Regions from separate parts of the Homo sapiens genome. Here region 1 is linked to region 2. Evidence: promoter capture Hi-C in 16 types of primary human blood cells and fetal thymus (Javierre and others, 2016). All regions are on one chromosome and are shown on one strand. The core of a region is centred on a gene start or on the middle of the fragment in contact, and the rest is flanking DNA. Distances in the headings are between cores, read along the strand shown.

The links. Contacts are between HindIII fragments. The CHiCAGO score rates a contact against its expected background, and 5 or more counts as called.
Region 1: a fragment that was not itself captured here is called in contact with the fragment with the promoter of SGK2 in region 2 in 1 of 17 cell types (M0 macrophages); the score reaches 7.8 in M0 macrophages.

What each region holds. Positions count from the first base shown.
Region 1 is chr20:41,695,126-41,699,677 of GRCh38, forward strand. No RefSeq gene overlaps it. Among named protein-coding and RNA genes, the nearest start is that of CHD6, 79 kb to the left of the region's middle. RefSeq lists a silencer at 4,085-4,379. The HindIII fragment of the contact is 500 bases long and covers 2,430-2,929 here.
Region 2 is chr20:43,556,853-43,561,818 of GRCh38, forward strand. SGK2 (serum/glucocorticoid regulated kinase 2) reads left to right here and starts at 2,175. Exons shown (of 13, transcript NM_170693.3): 1 at 2,175-2,307. The HindIII fragment of the contact is 1,890 bases long and covers 1,435-3,324 here.

The DNA.
Region 1 (4,552 bases), core at 1,430-3,929, 1.9 Mb before region 2:
GACAGAGTTTCACTCTTGTTGCCCAGGCTGGAGTGTAGTGGCACAATCTTGGCTCACCGCAACCTCCACCTCCCAGGTTCAAGCGATTCTCCTGCCTCAGCCTCATGAGTAGCTGGGATTATAGGCATGCGCCACCACGTCCGGCTAATTTTGTATTTTTAGTAGAGACGGGGTTTCTCCATGTTGGTCAGGCTGGTCTCAAACTCTTGACCTCAGGTGATCCACCCGCCGGGCCTCCCAAAGTGCTGGGATTACAGGTGTGAGCCACTGCACCCAGCCTAGTCTTGCCTCTTCTAAACCATATCCACACTGGCAGTATAGGAATATTTTCAGTACTCAAATATGATGACTTGACTTTCCTTTAGAGGCTTTGTGTCCCCTACAAGTTTTAGCTCAAACTCCTCAGCACAGTGCTCAGAGACCTTCGTAATTGGATTTACCTCACTTTCCAGTCTTCCTTTTTTGCAAGTTCTGTTATCTCTGCTTGGCATGCCCTCTCCTATGTGCTTGCTGATCAGGCAAACTTCTATTCACACTTTGTCTTGGCTGAAATATCATCACCTCTGTGCTCTCCTTGTGCACTCTCAATTCACTTCTTGTCCCCCTGCTGTGTAACTACTGGTTTGCCTACCAGTCTTTCCCAAGAGACAGTGAGCTCCTCCTCTTGGGGATGTGTTTTCTATCTTTGTATGATGCAGAACACAAGGCCTGGCAGTTGCTCTTTTCTTTCTTTCTTTTCTTTTTTTTTTTTTTTGAGACGGATTCTTGCTCTGTCGCCCAGGCTGGAGTCCAGTGCAATGTCGGCTCACTGCAACCTCCGCCTCCCGGGTTCAAGTGATTCTCCTGCCTCAGCCTCCCAAGTAGCTGGATTACAGGCATGCGCTACCACGCCCAGCTAATTTTTTGTATTTAGTAGAGATGGGGTTTCACCATGTTGGTCAGGCTGGTCTCAAACTCCTGAACTCAGGTGACCCAAAGTGCTGGGATTACAGATGTGAGCCACCACACCTGGCCATTGCTGTTTTCATAACAAATATTCATTAAGAGAATGAGTGGAACAGCTAGCCATGACTAGCCTCCACTTGTCACCTGATGAGAAGGTGACATGTGGTTCTTATCCTTGGCAGAGTGGAAATTAGCATCCAAAAGGACGCAAGAAGAGATGAGTAAAAAATCTACACTTACCCATGAGCCAGATACTGTCTCATCCACTGTCTCATTTAATCTTTGTGACAATCATAGTTCTCAGTTTTTGCTGCTAAGAAAACTGGTGCCCAAAGGCTCTGCCTAAAGATTACCCAACTAGTAATGGAGAACCTCGGTAGGAAATTGGGTCTTTCTGATCTCAAAGGTTGAGCCCCTCAATATTCCTTCTGTTCTTTTTGCCCCATCTGGCACCCGTTACTAGCACAGAAGCCCGGAAAGTTTAAGAAACAACTTCTGTCTCTGGTGTGTCATTTGTACCTCTGAGGACATCAACTTGGAACAGCCATTGTACCAGAGTTCTGTCTTTTCCAGGAATCAGTGACTCATATCAGTCTCTGCTGATATCAGCTGCTGAAGGGCTTAGGAGAACTGGTAGGACTCAGAGGAGCAGAAAATCCAGGAAAGGGCACTCTTGGCCAGTGCTGTTTAATAGAACTCTTTCAGATGAGTAAAATGTTCCATATTTGTGCTTTCCAGTATGGGAATGTCTCAAGTTCCTTTTTAGACAGTATCTCCAGCCCCCTCATTGGTTCCTGACTTCAGGCTGTTTCCAAGACATTCAACTTGAGACTACAGATCCCTGGGCTAGGTCTTCAAGGGCCCTCCAGATCCAAGCTATGCCTCAGTTTTAGCTGAAGTTGTGTCCAAGAACACAGGTCAGGGTACAGGGAGATGGGATACGTATAGCTCCAGACATGGCCAGTGCATTGTTGATATTGCCACCCCAGCAAACTGCCTAGAACTTGGCCCAGAGCAGATGCTAGGTTAACATGGTAGATGAGTGAATTTACTTTCTCTTCCCCAGATTGGGGCTCCCTCACCTACTGCCATTGGCTTCTGGAATCCTTCTCTATCATTGTGAACTGATGACTTGCCACATGGTGAAGATTAACGAAGCCAGTGCTTTGAACCACCACCCTGACATTTTGGGGGTAGGTCAGGGGGGTAGCTACAAAACCAGCTAGTAATAATTCATTGAAAATATGCTGGATCCAGCATTTTTATGTAATGACCTCATTTTTCTTGTGAAACCCTGTGTGCAAAATGAAAGCCCAAATGAGCATCTGCTATATACAGTTAGGAGTAGGGTGGTGCTGGGGAAAGAGGACTGATCTAGGAGTTACCCTGGACCTGGGGCTCATAGGCTGTATGACCTTGAACAAGATGCTCAATGCTTCTGTGCCCCAGTTTTCTCTCAAGTAAAATAAAAACATTGGACTCTAAGCTTCTTTCTACAGTTAATGTGAATGTTTAAAAAATGGCTGGTCACATCTGTGATCAACCTACATTAAGCACCTTTCAAGTGATTACTTGCTTCAATTAGGTCCATTTTCATTGTTTACTTTTACTAACAGTTTTTTTTCTTAACCCTTCCACTTCCAGTGCCTTCCTCATTCTTCACTATTTTTTGATTGTTTCTTCAGATTCTGATAAATCATCTTCATTTCCAGCCATTGAATCACCTGCTCCTTGGCCCTGCCTAGAGGCTCTTTAATCCTCAGCAGTTTCAATTTCCTGACAAAGCACACAGAGGGGGCCCGGTCTCCCTCCTCTTCCCTTGCCCACTACTCACCACTCTCCCATCTAAAACACATCTGAAAAATCAGGGAGGTTTCTATTCTGGCAGTTGTCTCTCTCACCACTAGATGGCACATGCAGGTCATCAGTCTTTTGGGCAAAAACTAATTTTATTGTGTATTTAAACTCCATCTCAATCCACAAAAGCTTTGAGGGGAATTACAAAAGTACAAAATATACAAAAGGATAAGACAAAAAGTTGAGGTAGCTGGAGAAAATAGAAAACAAGTGGAAGAAATAACTCCAGGATGACATTAGCTCAAAAAGATCAACACCAGCAAAGGCTTACACATTTGGCTCCGAGCTTCCAAATGGCCAAAGTAAAGAGGGAAATGTGAGTGGTAATAAAATTCTAGATTTTATGTGAGAAAAACAAATATTTGGGAGAAGCTCAACTTTTCCTGACCCTGAGACCAAAGAGATATTTTTCCCGTGGGTCAGCTGACTGAACAGTGATGCAATACAGCGGTGACTTAATTGGAGCTGTTTCTTATAATGTCCTTTTATGCAGGCCTATGGCATGACGCTCAAGTATAATTGAGGAAAAGCAGTTCTACTGGGCTTAAAACATGAGTTTCCAGGACAGAGTAAATTCACTGTTTGTTGTGGGCCTCCGTAGTTTGAAACAGTGAAATCTGCACACCTCCCTGTTCCAGAGTTTAGGTGGAGTTTGGGGGAGAGGGGGTTCTTCTTGGAGACTGTGGTAAGCAGTTTCTAAGAGGGCCACCAATGATCCTGCCTCCTGGTTTTCAAACCCTATCTGGTCCCCTCCCATGTAGCAGCAGTAATGGTCTGTGTCACCAGCAGAATGCAGGAGAAGCAGGGCCGGGCATAGTGGCTTATGCCTATAATCCCAGCACTTTGGGAGGCCGAGGCAGGAGGATTGCTTGAGCCCAGGAATTAGAGACCAGCCTGGACAACAAAATGAGACCTCGTCTCTACAAAAAATACAAAAACTAGCCAGGCATGGTGGTGTGAGTCTGTAGTCCCAGATACTACGGAGGCTGAGGCGGGATAATTGCTTAAGCCCAGGAGGTTGAGGCTGCAGTGAGCTGTGTTCATGCCATTGCACTCCAGCCTGGGTGACAGAGCAAGACCCTGTCTCGAACAAACAAACAAAAACAAAAACACCCCACCAAAAACAGAATACAGGAGAAATTATGGTATGTCACTTCTCAGATCAGGTTAAAATACATCATAGCTTCTCTCTTGGTCTCTCTGTCTCTGGTTTTGTCTCTCTCTTTCTGTCATGCTAGGGAAAGCCAGGTGCCATGTCATTAGGAGTCTTGAGAGACCCATGTAGTAGAGAACTGAGCCTACTGTCAACAGCCAGTGTCACCTTATTAGTCATGTCAGAGTACCACCTTGGGAGCAGATCCTCCAGCCTCAGTCGAGTCTTCAGAGACTAAATCCCTGGCTAACACCTTAATGGCAAGAAACCTCATGAGAGACCATGAGCCAGGCCATTCAGCTAAGTCACACCTTGGCTCTATGAGATAATAAATGCTTGTTATTTTAAGCTGTTAAGTTTTGGTATAATTTGTTAAGCAACAATAGATGACTAATACAAAGGCCAATAGAAATCCAAGGTTGCATCAAGGATAATTTTACATGGGTAAGTCTACTTGGTTTCAGAGACCAAGAGAATATTTCAGAAGCAACTCAAGTGGGCATTATTTTTAACTTTTAGTTTAATTTAATTTAATTTTTTAAAAGACAAGTCAAATTTCACAGTGGGGCGTTGCATAGCAATCTTAGTGACACTAAT
Region 2 (4,966 bases), core at 925-3,424:
TGCAGCCTTGTTGGAAATATTGTGAAACTGCTAACAGTCAAAATGTCCATCAGAAGGAACAGTAAATAGGGAATAGGGGTTGTGAAAACTCCACACTATGAAGTGTGGTGCAGCTGCTTAAAAGATGTATATATGAAAAAAAGTGAATTACTGATGGCCCATTTTCTGGAAAAAAAATGGATGCAGTTATATAGATTAATACATATAGATTAAGATTAATATACATATAGATTAAGACATAGACAAAAATCTGGAAGGATTGTCACCCTTTTTTTTTTTTTTTTGAGATGGAGTCTTGCTCTGCTGCCCAGGCTGGAGTGCAGTGGCATGATCTTGGCTCACTGAAAGCTGCATCTCCCAGGTTCATGCCATTCTCCTGCCTCAGCCTCCCGAGTAGCTGGGACTACAGGCACTCGCCACCACGCCTGGCTAACTTTTTGTATTTTTAGTAGAGATGGGGTTTCACCATGTTAGCCAGGATGGTCTCGATCTCCTGACCTCGTGATCCACCCACCTCAGCCTCCCAAAGTGCTGGGATTACAGGCATTAGCCATGGCGCCCAGCCGGATTGTCACCCTTTAGTTAACAGCAGCTGCCTCTGGAAATGAGATTGAAGATGGGCTGGAGGGAAAGCTTTTACTTTTTATTTGACATTCTTCTGTAAGTTGGAATTATTTGATACACTTTATGCAACCAATACCAGTATGTGGCGTGTTTGGGGGTTTTTTAAGCAGCTCTGGAAGAGCAGAGGAGAGGGAGCTTGGTGGCACAGCAGCAGCAGCAGCAGGAGCTCTGGAAAGGGCAGGACCTTGTGCGCTGCCCTGATTTGCTCTGTGCACTTGGGCCAGCTACCTCCCCTATCTGGACCAGGGCCAGACACATGCTGCTATGTGTGTTGGTGGAGGTGGGGTGTGTGGCCATGCAGGGCTCCTCCGGAGCACAGCAGAGCAGCCGGTGTTTAAGGCACCAGAATTACCAGAAAGTTGTTGACATTTTAATGGAAAGGCAATGGAGGAAGCAGTGTGAAAGTCAGCCTGCTCAGGAGGGGTCACTGGGCAGAGCTTTCCTTACCTGTCCAGGGGTCCAGGCCCTGCCTGTGCCCTGAGTTAGAACCCAGGGCCGGCCAGGCGCGGTGGCTCACGCCTGTAATCCCAGCACTTTGGGAGGCCGAGGCGGGCAGATCACAAGGTCAGGAGATCGATACCGTCCTGGCTAATGCAGTGAAACCCCATCTCTACTAAAAATACAAAAATTAGCTGGGCGTGGTGGTGGGCGCCTGTAGTCCCAGCTACTCGGGAGGTTGAGGCCGGAGAATGGCGTGAACCTGGGAGGCGGAGCTTGCAGTGAGCTGAGATCACGCCACTGCACTCCAGCCTGGGTGACAGAGCGAGACTCTGTCTCAAAGAAAAAAAAAAAAGAACCCAGGGCCTGGGAAGCTTTGGGTCAACCCCCGAGAAAGCCTTCCCTGTTCTCCAGGGTGAACTCATCTCTGGTTCCTGAGCCTCAAATCTCTGAAGGGCAGAGTGGGGCATAGGTTTCAACTCAGCTGTGATTCTCCCAGAACGGTGCCAGGGCAGTGCTTGGTCGGGTAGGCTGTGGGTGGCAGTCTTCGGCTTAACACAAGAAATTGCCAGAGGCTGGCTCAGGGGGAAATGAGCTGCCCAGTCCTGGAAGTTTCCATGAAATGACTGAACATAGGGGCTGGTGGCCCCCATTAGGGAAGGGGTGGAGGAGGGTGTTGTGTGAGACCAACCTTTCAGTTGCTGGTTCACTAGGTTCCAAGCGAAAGGGAAGATGACTCAGCGGAGGGAATCAGGGAAGGCTGTGTAGGAGTCAGCACTTAAGCTGGACCTTGAGAGAGTGCGGCAGTTCCAGTGTTGAAAGGGACTTCAGAAACCGTCCCTCCAGCAGGACACACCATCCGTCACCAATTCACATGAGGCTCAGGGAGCTGAAGTCAGTTGCCCATGGTCACATAACAAGTTGTGCTTTAAAAAATTCAGAGAGTCCCCCAGGCAGGGCCCATCCAGGAGCCAGTGTGTGCAGCCAGCTTGGTAATTCAGGTCCAGTGGTTAATTAGTAACTGGAAGGCCCCGAAGCCAGCTTCCAGCAGGCAGGGCTGGGAGGTTGAACTTGAGCCGGTTTGGGAGCCAGGAGCGAGTGGGTGACAGGTCATTCCTGACTGGGAAGGTTGCTTGACAAGTCAGGATTGTGCCTCCAGTCAGAAGGACCATGAAGAGAGAGAAGAGGGCAGAGCCGTGCATGGGGCTGCTCCCCAGGACCTGAGCAGGAACCTGGAGTTTTCAGGTGAGAGGCTCACCTGTGAGCAGGATACCTGCCTGCTCGCCTATTGGTCTCCAGATTGACTAGTTACCTAGCTAACATCTTTCCTAGTACCTGTTTACTTTCTTTCCTTCCTTTCTTCCTTGGCGACTTCTTTCCCTTCTCCCTCCTTCCTTTCCTTCCTTCCCTCCCAACTATCTGCTTTCTCAGCTGCCTAATTTTCTTCCTCCTTAACTAACCAACTTACATCCTCACTTCCTTCCCACTGACTTCATTTTTTCCTTTTCTAGCTTTCTATTGTCTTCCTGAAATTCCAGGCCGTGGGCTTTGCAGTCAGATGGCCTGGGTTCAAATCCTGGTTATGTCATTTATTAACTGTCTTGATCATGTCACTTCCCTGTCCTTGCCTCAGTTTTCTCCTCCTTGAAACAGGGACGATGATAGTTCCTAACCCGTGGGGTTGTGGGAACAAAATAAGATCAAGTTGGCACTTGAACTGGGCAGGCGTGTAAATGAACAAGTTACAGTGAAGACAGGGACAGCAGCAGGAGAGGGTGCATGGGATCGGAGGGTCATCTGGCTTCCAGGAAAGGCAATGAGAACAGGTGAAAAGGTGAGCTGGAAAGACCAGGTTTGTTGGGGAATGTTCCAAGGAGAGAGAACTGTGTGACACTGTCCCACCCCCACACCCCATTTGGCAGGGCCAGGGAGCTGTAAGCAGGTCCATGTAACAGTGGGACAGAGGGAGGCAAGTCTGGGCTGTGGCAAGTTAGGAAAGGGACAGGCTTGAGGACTCATGGAGGGGCTTGAGTGGGAGTTTGCGGAGTCTGAAGAGTTAGGAGAATATATTGATGTCCAGCTTCTGGCCAGAAAATTAGAACACCGTGGTGCGAGAGAGAAGAAAGCCTTAGGAACTGAGGGCTGCTTAGGCATGGGGGTCACAGTCAAGGTGATGGGGGAGGGTGTGATGGGCCATGGGCATGCCAGGTTCCCACCAGGAACTCAGTACTTGAATATTAACTCAACAGCAATATCTTGAGAAGCTTTACACAATAGTACAAAGATAAAAGTTAAAATAACCGGCCGGGTACAGTGGCTCACACCCGTAATCCTAACACTTTGGGAGGCCGAGGCAGGCGGATCACCTGAGGTCAGGAGTTTGAGACCAGCCTAGCCAACATGGTGGAACCTCGTCTCGACTAAAAATACAAAAATTAGCCGAGCGTCGTGACACATGCCCGTAATCCCAGCTATTTGGGAGGCTGAGACAGGAGAATTGCTTGAACCCAGGAGGCGGAGGTTGCAGTGAGCAGAGATTGCGCCACTGCACTCCAGCCTGGGCGACAGAGCGAGACTCCATCTCAAAAAAAAAAAAAAAAAGTTAAAATAACCTAACCTAAGAACCCGCTGTGACCTTGGGTCATGACCCTGCAGTCTTTTTTTGGCAGCTGTGCTCACAAATGTGTACGTGCAGACATGTCTTTTGTTTTTCTTTTACAAAATTGGTACCCCTACAACACCTACTATTTTGAAACTTGGTTTTTTGCTTGATATTGTATCACATGTATGTTCCTGTTTTGGTTTATATAGGTTTTATATAGTTTTTGGTTGTGTAATTTTCCACTTTATATATGTACCAACATTTATCAATTCATTTATTGATTCATTAGTCAAATTGTACTGGGCATCTACTATATTCCAGGCCCTGTGCTCAGTGCTGAGGATTCAATAGTTGAACAGGAAGTATTTGCCCTCCTGGAGCTGATGTTCTAGTTGGAGATAGAAAATAAAAACTAATAAATACGTGATAAGGCATCAGTGCTACAAAGTAAAATATAAAGTAGACAAAATGTATAGGGAATGAGCAGGACTGGTATCAGAGTGACTAACCATCCTGGTTGGCCCAGGACTATAGCGGTTTTAGCACTGAAACCCATCAGTCCCAGACAAACCAAGATGACTTGTCACCCGTAATCAGTACAAGCCTCTCCAAGAGGTGACTTTAAGCAGAAGCCTCTATGACGTTAGTGGAAAACAGCCATGCAGGTGCCTGGGGGAAGAGTGTTGTAGGCAGAGGGAAAACTAAGTGCAAGGGGCTGGAGGCCAGAGAGCACTTAGTGTGTCTGAGGGACAGCAAGAGAAAGGAGAGAGGCTGAGGGCAGTCAGGAAGGAGGGGAGTGGAAGCCAAGGAGGAGATGGAGACAGCAAGCTAGGTCATATGGATCTCATAAACCATGGTAGAGGCTTTGGATTTTTTTTTTTTTTTTTTTTTTGAGACAGAGTCTTGCTCTGTCACCAGGCTGGAGTGCAGTGGCGTGATCTCAGCTCACTGCAACCTCTGCCTCCTGGGTTCAAGCTATTCTCCTGCCTCAGCCTCCTGAGTAGCTGGGACTACAGGCACATATCACCACGCCCAGCTAATTTTTGTATTTTTAGTAGAGACGGGGTTTCACCATGTTGGCCAGGATGGTTTCGATCTCTGACCTCATGATCCACCCGCCTCGGCCTCCCAAAGCACTGGGATTACAGGTGTGAGCCACCGCGCCCAGCTGAGGCTTTGGATTTTAATTCTAGGTGTGTTGAGAAACCACTGGAGTTTTTGAGCAACTAAGGCACATGATCTGATTTACATTTTAAGACTCACCGTGGCTTTTCATAGAGAAAGATTGTAGTGGGTAAATGG